2 separate regions of the Homo sapiens genome follow, and region 1 is linked to region 2. Evidence: promoter capture Hi-C in 16 types of primary human blood cells and fetal thymus (Javierre and others, 2016). All regions are on one chromosome and are shown on one strand. Each heading gives the region's core, a stretch centred on a gene start or on the middle of the fragment in contact. The rest is flanking DNA. Distances are from core to core; before and after follow the strand shown. Region 1 overlaps ZNF518A (zinc finger protein 518A). Region 2 holds the start of CCNJ (cyclin J).

Region 1 (5,850 bases), core at 1,928-4,427, 90 kb after region 2:
CGTATGGTCATTGGGGGCCATTTCTTGCAGAGATGCCCTGCTCCCTGACGCGCTCGCTCTTCTCCAGAGTTGGCCAAAGGTGCTCTTCCCCGCAGACCCTAACCACACCCAGTGGCAGTTGGATTTCTTTGTAACTGGCTTTCTCACATGTAGGGTTCATTTTGACTCTATTCGTTACATGGTGTCCTCTTTGTCAAGTAGACAGTCTCTTCCTAGGTGGCTGTGGTAATTGAAAAGTACATAGAGCGAAATGTATATAAGGAAAAATGTTTTAACTCTTAAGTGGACCGATCAAACAGATGTAGCTTTAAAGTTCAGAATACAACAGTTAAGACTCAGTTTTCTTTTTAGGTTTAAATTTGAGAGCAAGTAGTGTATGTGAGCTGTTTTAGTGCAAACATTGTTGAGTATGTTGTCAAACGTCTAAAAAACCCTAGAAAAATAAAATAAGTCAATGTTCAAGGAATTCATAAGAATGTTGGAATTTGTACAGTTGTCGCAGTGATAAAACATGAAGACACCAAACTGTCAGGATAGGAATTCTATTAACTTGAAAGTGTGCATGTTAGATCTAGTTACTGGTAATTGTTGAATTGCTTTTTCTGCAGCAAGGGGTCTGATTTGAGTGTACTCTAAGGTTGATATCCTCAGGTTTAATTTAAAACATTTAAATTGATTCAGTGAAATTTCCTAACATTTTTTGAGTTTAACTGCAAATTTATAGAAATGCATTCACTATCTTTCAGCAAAATTGTCTTTTCTGAAATTTATAAAGAGACATTGCGTTCTGTTAACACTTTGAGGGTGTTGGGATTTCCTGGGGAAGGTAAGCATAGTAAACGATGTTGATTTTTGCCATAGAAACTGTAAATTAGATCATCCCTAGATACAGAAAATTGCCAACAAAAGGGGAGAATAAAATGTAGGTATGTTACACAACCAAATGTTTCCTGTTTGTTGCGTGAAAATAAGTATAATTACCAAATAAAACGTTTTATATCTGGTTTTATGGAAGGACAAAAGACAGTAACCACAATGAACACCCACTGTGTGCATTGATAATGTATGAACTTTTAAATGCTTCAATTTTTTGCCATGGTCACACTTCGGATTCTGTTCTAGTCTCTCTGGTAATAGTATGCTGTAATCCCAGAAGTTTCTATATTTTGAAATATTACAGAGGGACTATACTTTAGCCTAGATCTATAATTTGACTTCAGGATATGCTTTAAATGCCCTTTAAGTGTATTTTTGTTGTTTACTTTTCTGTTTATAGTTGTTTAGAATTGTTCTCATTGAGGCATTGTGACATTGCATACTTTAGAGCACTTAATACTACTTTTTTTTTTTTTCTTTAAATGATAGGAGACTTGAATCTTGCCCACATTCCTTCAGGTATGCTACTGAAGGTTTTGTGGCAAAGTGCTATTAGCAGAACAAAAAGGTTTTAACACCGTCTTGAAATTTTTATTTATTATCTGGTCCCAGGTGTGTAGGCTGTGAGTATTTCAGTTCTATATGGGGTATTGGCTTCTCATGGTGAGCAGTTTTCATGGCATATTAGATACCAGAAATGAGTATTAAGGGTTAGTATTGTGGTGGTAGGATAACTGAATTGGAACCGGATCCAGATATTATTTCTAGTTTTGTGACTTTGGGCAAGGCTCATTTTCTTTTTCTTGTAATAAATGAAGATACTGAGTTAGATTGATTCTAAGCTTTAGGTTGTGACTTTTGCAAATTTGTGACATGTTATCACTGGTCATCAATGATGTATGCTTAAGTGTATAGAAGTTTTTTCTTAGTTTTTTTTTTTTTTTTTTACATTTCTTTATACACCTAAGTTGAATGTGAAGTGTAATTGAACAGTTTTTGTCGTCAAAAGTTTTAAAATCTTGGTCTTCATTTCCAGATATCATCTCTTCTTTTGATCACTGTTCCTGATTGTGACATTGTGCAAGTGTTAAATTGTGTGCCTTTTGTTCCTGAAGAAAGAGGTATGGTAAAGATTGAAATACTGGAGTATATAGTCTATTAAGTAGTAAGTTGGTATGTTTTAATATTGGACTAAATAAAGTAAAATATAGGTTAAGTATCCCAAATCCAAAAATCCAGAATGCAAAATTTTTTGAGTGCTGACATGATGGTCAAAGGAAATGCTCTTTGGAACATTTTGGATTTTGAATTTTTGGATTTGAGATGCTCAACTGGTATAATGCAAATACTCTAAAATCCTAAAAAAGAAAAAGAAAAAAAGAATGAAACCCTTCTGTTCCCAAGCATTTCAAATAAGAGACACTCAACCTGTAGTTTTACATATACATGAGTTTTCATAAGTTATATAAGTTATAGTTTTATTTTATTTTTTGGCTAAAATAAAATACTTAAACATGAGTTTTCATTTTAATCTAAGCAAAAAAAGTAATTTTTGGTTTCATAGTTTATTACTTAACATTTTATTAGAAATCCAAATATAACTTTAACTATCATCCTTCTGAATAGAAAAGTGGCATTAAAGTCTTCTGGGTAATGAACAGTGGAGATAAAGGTGGTAGATAGATGTTTCAAAGCTATATGAATGGCCAGAAGATTGTGGTTTTGGTCTAGTAAGTGCAAAGCAATGTACCTAAAGAAAAATTATCTGATATGTGTTTATATTATGACTAATAGCATCTTCATTATGAATCAGGAAAGGGACTTGGGAATCACTATAGTGTTATGATTGGTTTCTTGAAGACAGTCATGTGAATGTCTGGGTGTAGACAAAAAAGGAGGAAAAATATGCCAACAAATCTATGGTATTATAAGGAAAGCTTTGGAAATGTAGTGGAAAATATTGTACCCATGTAAAAAAACATGTTTTTTCTACCCTCAAAACACAGATGTCTCCTACTCTTTGTGTTGGATAGGTCCTGGGATCTTTGAAATGCTAAGATTCTTGGATACCACAGTATCATAAAATTCCTCTAAATGCAGTAAGTATACACATAAGTATGACCGTAAATTAGGAATAAGATTATTTATGTAACTGCTGAAATAGCTGACATAGACTATACCACCTTACAGTATTGCTTTAATTATCATAATAACCGTGTTCTTCCCTGAACTTCACCAGCAAATGGATTTCTGTTCAGGGCCATTTTTTTACAAAGGCATGAATTTTTATTTTGTCAGAAAATAATGTACATTGAGTAGAGAGCAGTAGAGCTGAGTTGAGGTACCACGTTATCGTTTATGTCATTAAGTAACTTTTTCCTATATAATATTTGTTTGACTTCCTACCACGAGATTCACATGGGTACTGTGTTATTCCTGAAGAGATAAAGTAATTCTGAATGCTAAGAATTTTCCTAAAGGTTGAGCATCCCAAATCTAAAAGCCTGAAATCTAAAATACTCCAAAATCTGAAACTTTTTGAGTGCTGACATGAAGCTCAAAGGCAATCATCACTGGAACATTTTGGATTTTGGATATTCAGCCAGTAAGTAATGCAAATATTCCAAAATCCACAAAAATCTGAAATCTGAAACACTTCTGGTTCCAAGCTTTTTTGTTTTGTTTTGTTTTGTTTTTTTGAGACGGAGTCTCACTCTGCCACCCAGGCTGGAGTGCAGTGGCGCGATCTCGGCTCACTACAACCTCTGCCTCCCAGGTGCAAGCAATTCTTCTGCCTCAGCCTCCCGAGTAGCTGGGACTATAGGCGCATGCCACCATGGCTGGCTAATTTTTTTTTTATTTTTAGTGGAGACGAGGCTTCGCCATGTTGGCCAGGCTGGTCTAGAACTCCTGACCTTGAGTGATCTGTCTGCTTTGGCCTCCCAAAGTGCTGGGATTACAGGGGTGAGCCACTGCTCCCGGCCTACTTCCAAGCATTTTGGTTAAGGAATATTCAGTTTGTACTATTTGACCCAGACTACTCAGAAAAAGTAATGTAATGAAGAATGAAAGCTGTAGTTGTAGTGAAGTAAATAGGAGACTGCTGTGTGATGACTGACCAAAACGATTTGTATTAATTTATCTTGAAAACTTGTGAGCAAAGTCTGACTAAAAATTTAAAGTTGTGACTGGTATGGCTGCATGAAACAAGTGTCAGAATATTAGAATGAAGGTACATGATGTGAAGTTTCAGAAAATTAAGTGGGCTTCACATAGGTCTCATTTCATGAGGAAAGTCAGATAATTTCAAAATGTAGTAAGCTTATCGTCAATTCCTGATTAATATTGGTTTGTTGAAGGTTGTGGCTGGTAAAAGACATGTCATATATTGTTTTTGTCAACTCAGTATCTCTTCATTAGAGAACCACCCCTCCCCTATTCTGAGTGGTTGGTGGGCTGTCCGTCAGTCTTACTGTCTTATAACCTGAGCTTGGTCATCCCTATTGCAACAGTGATTGCTGTTACTCATGCAGAGCCAGTCAGAATCCTTTTTTTGAAATTTATGGTTGAATGCTAGGACAAAGATACTACCTTTTCTCTGAAATTGTTAATCTGGGAAGGTGCTGGTGGCATTCTTTACCACGTGTATGAAAAGCGCATCTGTGTAGTGGGAGAAAGTGAAGCCATAAGGAGATGGGAGATGGATGGTGGTAGTGCCAGTTTCAATCTCAGGGAACATGGTAAGTGGTACCTACTTTTCTTTTGATTTTGTGAACTATCCTGGTGTCCTTCTCAGTCCTTGTGCCAAAATTTTTTGTGTAAATTGGTTTGAATTGGATTGCAGCAGAAAGTGTTCTGATGAATATATGGCCCTTATGAATTTAAGGTCTAAAGTTTCAGATTGATCATTCACATCCTTCTGTAGTTCCCCACTTTCCTATACCTTATAAAGAGTTCCCTTTATTTATTCATCATTTGTGCATGCATTCAATCTACTTTCACTCAACCTACAAACATTTTTTTGAGTGTCCACTATGTACAAGTATGTGCAACTGCCTGGATAGGCAAGATTATATGTACTAGACTGAGTGGATGGTGGATATATAGCATATTTTTATTTATTTCTGGTGCACAGATTAATAAGCGTGTGTTGAGAATAATGACTGTGGTGCTTGGCATCTAAGTAATAATGTAAGAACAAGAAGAATTCCTTGTCTTGGAAGTGCTTCTAGTTAGGAATTCATATTAATATACAGCAAACACAACAGAAAAAACAGATAAATGAATGCACAGTTGTATTTTAAGTGAATTTTGATGGGAAGGAAGTGAGCAGGTTGGCCCATTTAGGAAGATTTCCTGAAGAATATACAACTTTAAATGTATTTCTGCTTATGAATGTGGCTTTGATAGGCACAGAGAATAACTGAAAAAAGGATGGAGTTAAAAATGATTATAGGCTGATCCAGGTTGGAGTGGAGATTGGTTTCACTGTAACAGTATGTGTTCTTTGGAAATGAGGTAGTGGAAAATAAGGTGACTGTTTTAGGTAAATCTATGTATGAGGCATTTGGAAAGCCAAGCAGAAATTTTGGCCCTTTCTACTAAGATGGAGATTTCTTTGAAAAAATGTGTATATTTCTTTTCATATAATTTCATTTTTGTATGCTAAAATGTGAATTAAATGTGATGAAATACTGTAAAATTACTCATTTTGGCAAAAACCTTTGTTTTATTCATCTGTCTTGAAGATTTTTTAAAAATAGCAATTAACTTGGAATGCCGATTTATAAATATGTATATATAACCTTTCTCAAAAAGGGAAAGGTAAGAAGAAATGTTATATATATTTATTTATTTCTTCTTACCTTTCCCTTTTTGAGAGATCTCTTAGTAATAGTCAAAGCCATACCCTATTCCTTAGTGAGAAAGCCAGTTTGAAACGAATGTAGCAATAGATGTAAAAACATTTAAAGG
Region 2 (5,855 bases), core at 144-2,643:
TTTAGAAGCCAAATTATTATAAAGTTGTTTAATAGTCATGAAATGGAACCCAAGGATGTAGACACTATTTAAATGCCATTAAAAATGGCATGAAGCTTTTAGCCTGATGTGTCTACCTTCACTCTAGAGGACCCTGCAACTGAGAGACAGGCCAGGGCAGCCTTCTCCCTGGACTATGTCGGGTTAGGCCGGGATCTGCCAACTTCAGCTTCTGAGTTTCCCTTTTCTTGCCTTTGGTTCCTGCGGGCCTGCTCTCCTGGGTATAAGCATCGTCTATGGATAGGGTACGGCTCATATACATGTCTGCTGATGATCTTCAAATGAAGATGCCACCCAGAATCACATAAAATGTATTTATCACTTTGTAGTAGTTCTTTATCATCATGTATCTTTTTGGACAAAGGATTCAAAGTAAAAGGGGTGAAGTTTTAAAAATATTTACGTTTTACTATTAAGAGATTGATCTCCAGTCTCAGAAAAGTGGACAGTCTCACTGTCCTAGGGTTACCATCCACCTCTTTTGTGATAATCCACCAAAGAGGTTAAAATACAATTGATTAGGTTTCCTCTAATCACATTTCAGCCCCCATATCACCTCAATTGACGTCGGAGTGTTCTCACAGTTTTGCAGTTTCCTGATTTACGAGCACAGATGGTTAATTACATCCACCATGGGTTTGACAAGCAAGGTTACTAGAAGTAATCTTAAATGTCTTCATTCAAAGCTCTTGGGAATCCCTACAGCAACGAAAATAAGGAGGGGGAAGAGATTAATTAGGTTTCTAGAAGAAAGGTGGAGTTTGAGGTGGAACTTAAAAAAAGAGCATAATTTCACAGGAAAAAAAAAACGCTTCAGGGGCTGCAGAAACAGCTAAAGCACATTTGGAGGGCCTGATGATCCACGGAGCAGCCCCTGGGATGGAAGCGGTTGGTGCAACGTGAAGTAAGGTAAACCGAATCCATGCCGTGAAGACTTTTAAACGCCAAACTGAGGCGTCGGAACTTTGCTCCGCGGGCATCGAGGAGCCATCGAAGGTTCTCAGCAGGTGAGTGGCCTAACTGGATTGGTCACTGCAGTGATCCACCTTACAATTTCTCCGGCGCTCTCTGCCGACCTCAGCCGGCGATCAGGCCGGCTTCGCAGTAGGTGGCGGCTGAGCGCCCCGGCAACCGAAGCGCCAGGCCAGCCCAGGCCACGCCGCGCCGTGCGGGATGCTGACCGTACCCAGGCGGGAGCCGCCGCGCCGCCGCCTGGCGCTGCACCTGGGCCCGGCCCGGCCGCCAATTGGACGGCTCGGGGCGACCCCGCTGTATCGCGAGACGAGATTGGCAGCGGCGGGGCCTCAAGTGCCCCCGCGCTGGCTTTGTATGCGGAGCCGCCTGCCGGTCCTTTAACAATGGGCGGCGCGAGCGTCCAGGCGCTGGGCTCTAGCTGAGGCCGGCGCTTAGCGGCCCACTGTCCGCAGCATGAGCGGGGCCGGCGTCCGCCGCACGACGGCGGGGCTGGGGCTGTGAGGGCCGCGGTTCCGGGTAAGGGAGCCAGCGTGGGGCCGGGCGGCCCGGCAGGCCTGGGGTAGGCGTGGGGCAGCGGACCCTCCCGGGGTGAGGCGCAGAGCCTGGCTGGCCCGGCCTTTTGTTCCCCTTTCTGAGGCCGCGCGGAACGTGCGTTTCTCGGGGCTCCCGGGGAGGAGCAGGCTCCCGACGTCCATGCGGAGACCCGCGGCCAGGCAGACGCTCACCCCCGGGCTTTGCCATGGGAGCGTTTCCCCTCAGCGGGGCTATGAGCGTGTCACCTCTCCCCGCTCCTCAGGGAGGGCGGGAGAACTCCAGCCCCGGACGCAGGGAGCCCCAGCCGGGCCTCCCCCAGCTCTTCCCGAGCTCGCACCTGGCTCCGCGCTTTGGCAACTCAGGGCCCGAGTGGATCCCCTTTTGCCCGACACATAGTCGAGCAGTGAGTCTCAGAGTCCTTCGGCTCTTCCTGCGGGGGCAGACCCGGCTTCGCGTGTGGCGTTGGGGGAAACGACTCGGGTCGGGCTGGGTTGAGGAAGAGTCAAGTGAAGATGAGCAGCCACACCGGGTGGCCTGAGGTCACACCCCCCGGGGAGGGGGCGCAGAGGGTCGCGGGGGAGCCGGCAGTGACCGCGCCTGGGGTGTGTCTTACAGACTCGAGTTGCCGCGTCGGGCTGGGCGCGCCGCCGGGTCCCATGGAGCTGGAGGGGCAGTGGTGGCGAGGACAGCTGGCCGCCGATATTCACCAAGCGCTTCGCTACAAGGTAACTCCGAGGCCCGGCCTGCCTTCTCCTTCTGTGTGTCGCGCCAGTTGTTCTGAATCTCGGCTCTCTAGAAGGTCTAGTCAGGTTCTTTACTCACTATCTTCCGGGCCAGAAAAGGCGAGTTTGCTCATTTGCTCAAGGTTAATTAACTTCTTGGCTCCTTCTCTGGGATGTATCAAAAGAACCTGCAACCTGAATGAGTAGGGAGATGGTAGTTGGGCCAGGGAAGGTGGAAAGGGGCGTTCTGGCTTCCAGGTGGGTCATGAATTTGATCTTGTATTTTAAAAGATATATACACTGAATTTTTGTTGGGCAGAACAGCCCTCTTTGTTCGAGAGTTGCCGTTGCATGCAGCCAGTTTAAGTCGCTTTTGTACATAAATTCCTCAGCCTTTCCGCTAACTTGCCGTGAGACGTGGACAAGTGAAATTTCTGTTTCTTGATTTCCTCATCTGTAAAATGAGGAATAATGAGTGTGCCTTATGATTCTGGCGATTGTGAAACTTAAGTTAGTACCGTACATGTGCTTAGAAACTGCTCTTGGTATATAGTAAGCACTAAGTGATAACTTCTTATCACTTACCCCTCAGGATTTGGGCTGTTCAAAAGCCCTAAAGTGGAGGGAGTTGGCTGCCCCTTCCTGCTGATATCAAAGGCAGAAAGTAGACTTAATAGATATTGGAAAAAAATACTTTTCCAACACAAAGCAAAGTCTGTGTATTGTTGCTATTAAGTAACGGTTTTACTCTGCATGTGGCAAGGCAGATTAATGAGACATTTCTGCCTCTTCGATAACCAAAAGAGAGACCAGATCCAAAATGATCTCTAGCTTAACTCAGTTTCACCTTGGATAAAGAAAGCCATTTGTTAAATGTAGAAAATTGAGAAAGAAGCAAAACAGCTGACTTTCAATAAAAAGGATTCTGACTCTTGGGGTTGAGATCCTGGAATGATAATGAACTTTTATCTTGAGTTTCTGACCAGGTCAAGTAGATTGGAAAACCTAATTCTGACTTAAATTGTTACCCTTTTCTAGGCCTGAGATTTCTAAATGCTACTTAACTAATTCTGACATTCAGTCTCTTAGATTCACTAAAATACAGTTCAGCCCCCTAGGAGATGGTTTATACCACATAAAAATTCTAACTAATGGGATCTCTGGAGTGTTAGTTAGGAAAGAGTTGCAGTTTCTTGGAAAATTGTCCAGATACACTTTTGATCTTTTTTTTTTTTGGCAGATGTCATCTTTCAATGTGAAATGTTTTCTTTTTTAAAAAAATTAATATAGTTGCACATATTTTGAAAAGTGTTTTAAGTGTCAGCCTTTTTATCCCTCTGGTATGTAGTGAAATTAATTAGTTGATATTAAGAGTACTTTTTTTTTGAGTTGGAGTTTCACCTGACCTCAGGTGATCCACCTGCCTCGGCCTCCTAAAGTGCTGGGATTACAGGCATGAGCCACTGCGCCCAGCCAAGAGTATATTTTTTAATTGGCATGAAACTTAAAAGGTTTTTCTTGGTGATTTCCATACTTTTCAATCATTTTATGTGTAGATCATTTTAATTCGTGAGTGATTATCTGCATTTTGTCAATTGAGTTTGGACATGGGTTCTTTGTTTTTTTGTTTTTTCTCCTAGATTTAGATTTGTTGAAGGCTTTTGTGGATTAGTTTCTGGAGCATCCAAGGCATAAGACCCAACCTTATACTCACTCAAGTTGCTTATGAACTATCAGAGGACAAGGTAGCACAGGGTGTGAAGGAATGCCACTGAAAGTTTTATTGGGCCACCTATGGCCTACTGCCCTGGGTTGTCTTTATGTTTAAGCATTATGCAAACCATGGTTCTTACTGGCAACACTTTATACAAGAATTTACATTAATCTGTAAAACTTAAACTTGTGGAACTGGAGAGACCACTGTTTGTAATACACTGAAGGAAACTTAAAATGGACTTTTCTCCTAGAAAAGACGTGGTAATTCCAGGCTATTAATTGGTGATTCAGTCGGATAGTCATCTGTTTTTCTTCAACATGTTGATCATTTATGACATACATGATATCATGCCAGGTGTTAGAGCAATAACAGTGAACGAGACATGATCCTTGCCTTCATAGTCTAACCTTATCTATAATTTAGAGCATCCACATTTAGGTCTTCCTTTGGGCAGTTGCCATTGAGATACTGCAGAAGGTATTCTATGTTTAGGCCCTAGGTTTGTGGAGAAATATTTGGTGTGACTAGCATTGTGTTTACTAGGGAAGAGTGAAAATGACAATGAATGGAAATCATGCCAACTATCCACTCCCTCAAAAAACCCCTACAAAGCAGCTGTCACCTTACACCCTTTTGTCTCCTTTCTTCTCATTATTTTGCTGTGTATAGTTAGTGTCATAGGCTGTTTGGGAAAGTGTTTTTAGGAGCCTTAATGACAAATGGGAACAATTCTAGCTTTGTGAGAAACATTAAGAAAGTGAAGTCCATCAGTGTTTTCCAGGTGTTTCCAGGGAGTCTTTAAGACCATGTTCAGGCCACTTTTTGGGAAAACCTGCTCTGGTTTTGCCTTTTTTCCCCAACTCCCTAATCCCTGAGCTAAGTTAGATTTTCTTCCTAGGTGTTGCCATAATAACCTGTGGTGACTATATTGTGTGATAAGCTCTGTATTTGATTCACCTGCTAGAGATAGGCTTGAGACTGTTTTTCCAGCTTTTATGCCTGGGTTAGTATAGTGTCTGCTGCATGGGAGATGCTCAATAAATGTCACATGGTGGCAGCAAAGGTAAAGTTGCAACTCACTTACACCATTGTAAAGATCCAAAGAAAGAGTTAAGGAGAAAAGAAAAATCCTAGGAACTACATGAGAAATCGGCATCTTCCCTTTATGTGGAAAAAAAAAATTTTTTTGGCCAGGCATGGTGGCTCACACCTGTAATCTCAACACTTTGGGAGGCTGAAAGCAGGTGGATCACTTGAGTCCATGAGCTGGAGACCAGCCTGGGCAACATAGCGAGACCCTGTTGTACAGAAACTAACTGGGCGTGGCAGTGAGCGCTTGTAGTCCCAGCTACTCCAGAGGTTGAGGTGGTTGGATTGCTTGAGCCTGGGAGGTGGAGGGTGCAGTGAGCCAAGATGGCACCACTGTACTCCAGCCTGGGCTACAGGAAACCCTGTCTCAAAAAACAACAATTGATGTATTCTTTGGCTACACTACTAAATTACATTGACTATTTTATCCATTTATCTTAGGTAATATTAAGTTAGGTGAATATATAACTTCCCTTTTTTGTTTATCGTAAAATGTATCAACATAAAACTTTTTTTCCCCAACTTTTAAGTTCAGGGGTACGTGTGCAGGATGTGCAGGTTTGTTACATAGGTAAACGTTTGCCATGGTGGCTTACTGCACAGATCATCCCATCACCTAGGTATTAATCCCAGCATCCACTAGCTATTCTTCCTGATCCTCTTCCTCCTCCCACCCCCACCCTCCGACAGGCCCCAGTGTGTGTTGTTCCCCGCAACATGTGTCCATGTGTTCTCATCATTTAGCTCCCACTTATAAGTGAGAACATGTGGTATTTGGT

Evidence for each region. The method cuts DNA at HindIII sites, captures the fragments that hold promoters and counts their contacts. A CHiCAGO score of 5 or more calls a contact.
Region 1: a fragment that was not itself captured here is called in contact with the fragment with the promoter of CCNJ in region 2 in 2 of 17 cell types (naive CD8 T cells and total CD8 T cells); the score reaches 5.3 in naive CD8 T cells.

Annotation. Positions count from the first base shown.
Region 1 is chr10:96,130,674-96,136,523 of GRCh38, forward strand. It overlaps ZNF518A (zinc finger protein 518A), which reads left to right. Exons shown (of 6, transcript NM_001330736.2): 1 at 1-79; 2 at 1,913-1,997; 3 at 2,910-2,975. LOC124902486 (a long non-coding RNA gene) reads right to left here. Exons shown (of 2, transcript XR_007062254.1): 1 at 5,742-5,850; 2 at 1-5,681. Among named protein-coding and RNA genes, the nearest start is that of ZNF518A, 3.3 kb to the left of the region's middle. RefSeq lists an enhancer at 1-388. The HindIII fragment of the contact is 732 bases long and covers 2,812-3,543 here.
Region 2 is chr10:96,042,190-96,048,044 of GRCh38, forward strand. It overlaps CCNJ (cyclin J), which reads left to right and starts at 1,394. Exons shown (of 6, transcript NM_001134375.2): 1 at 1,394-1,530; 2 at 2,164-2,273. The coding sequence starts at 2,205. All of the region lies in intron 2 of ENTPD1-AS1 (ENTPD1 antisense RNA 1), which reads right to left. RefSeq lists silencers at 783-977, 1,105-1,674. The HindIII fragment of the contact is 7,328 bases long and covers 94-5,855 here.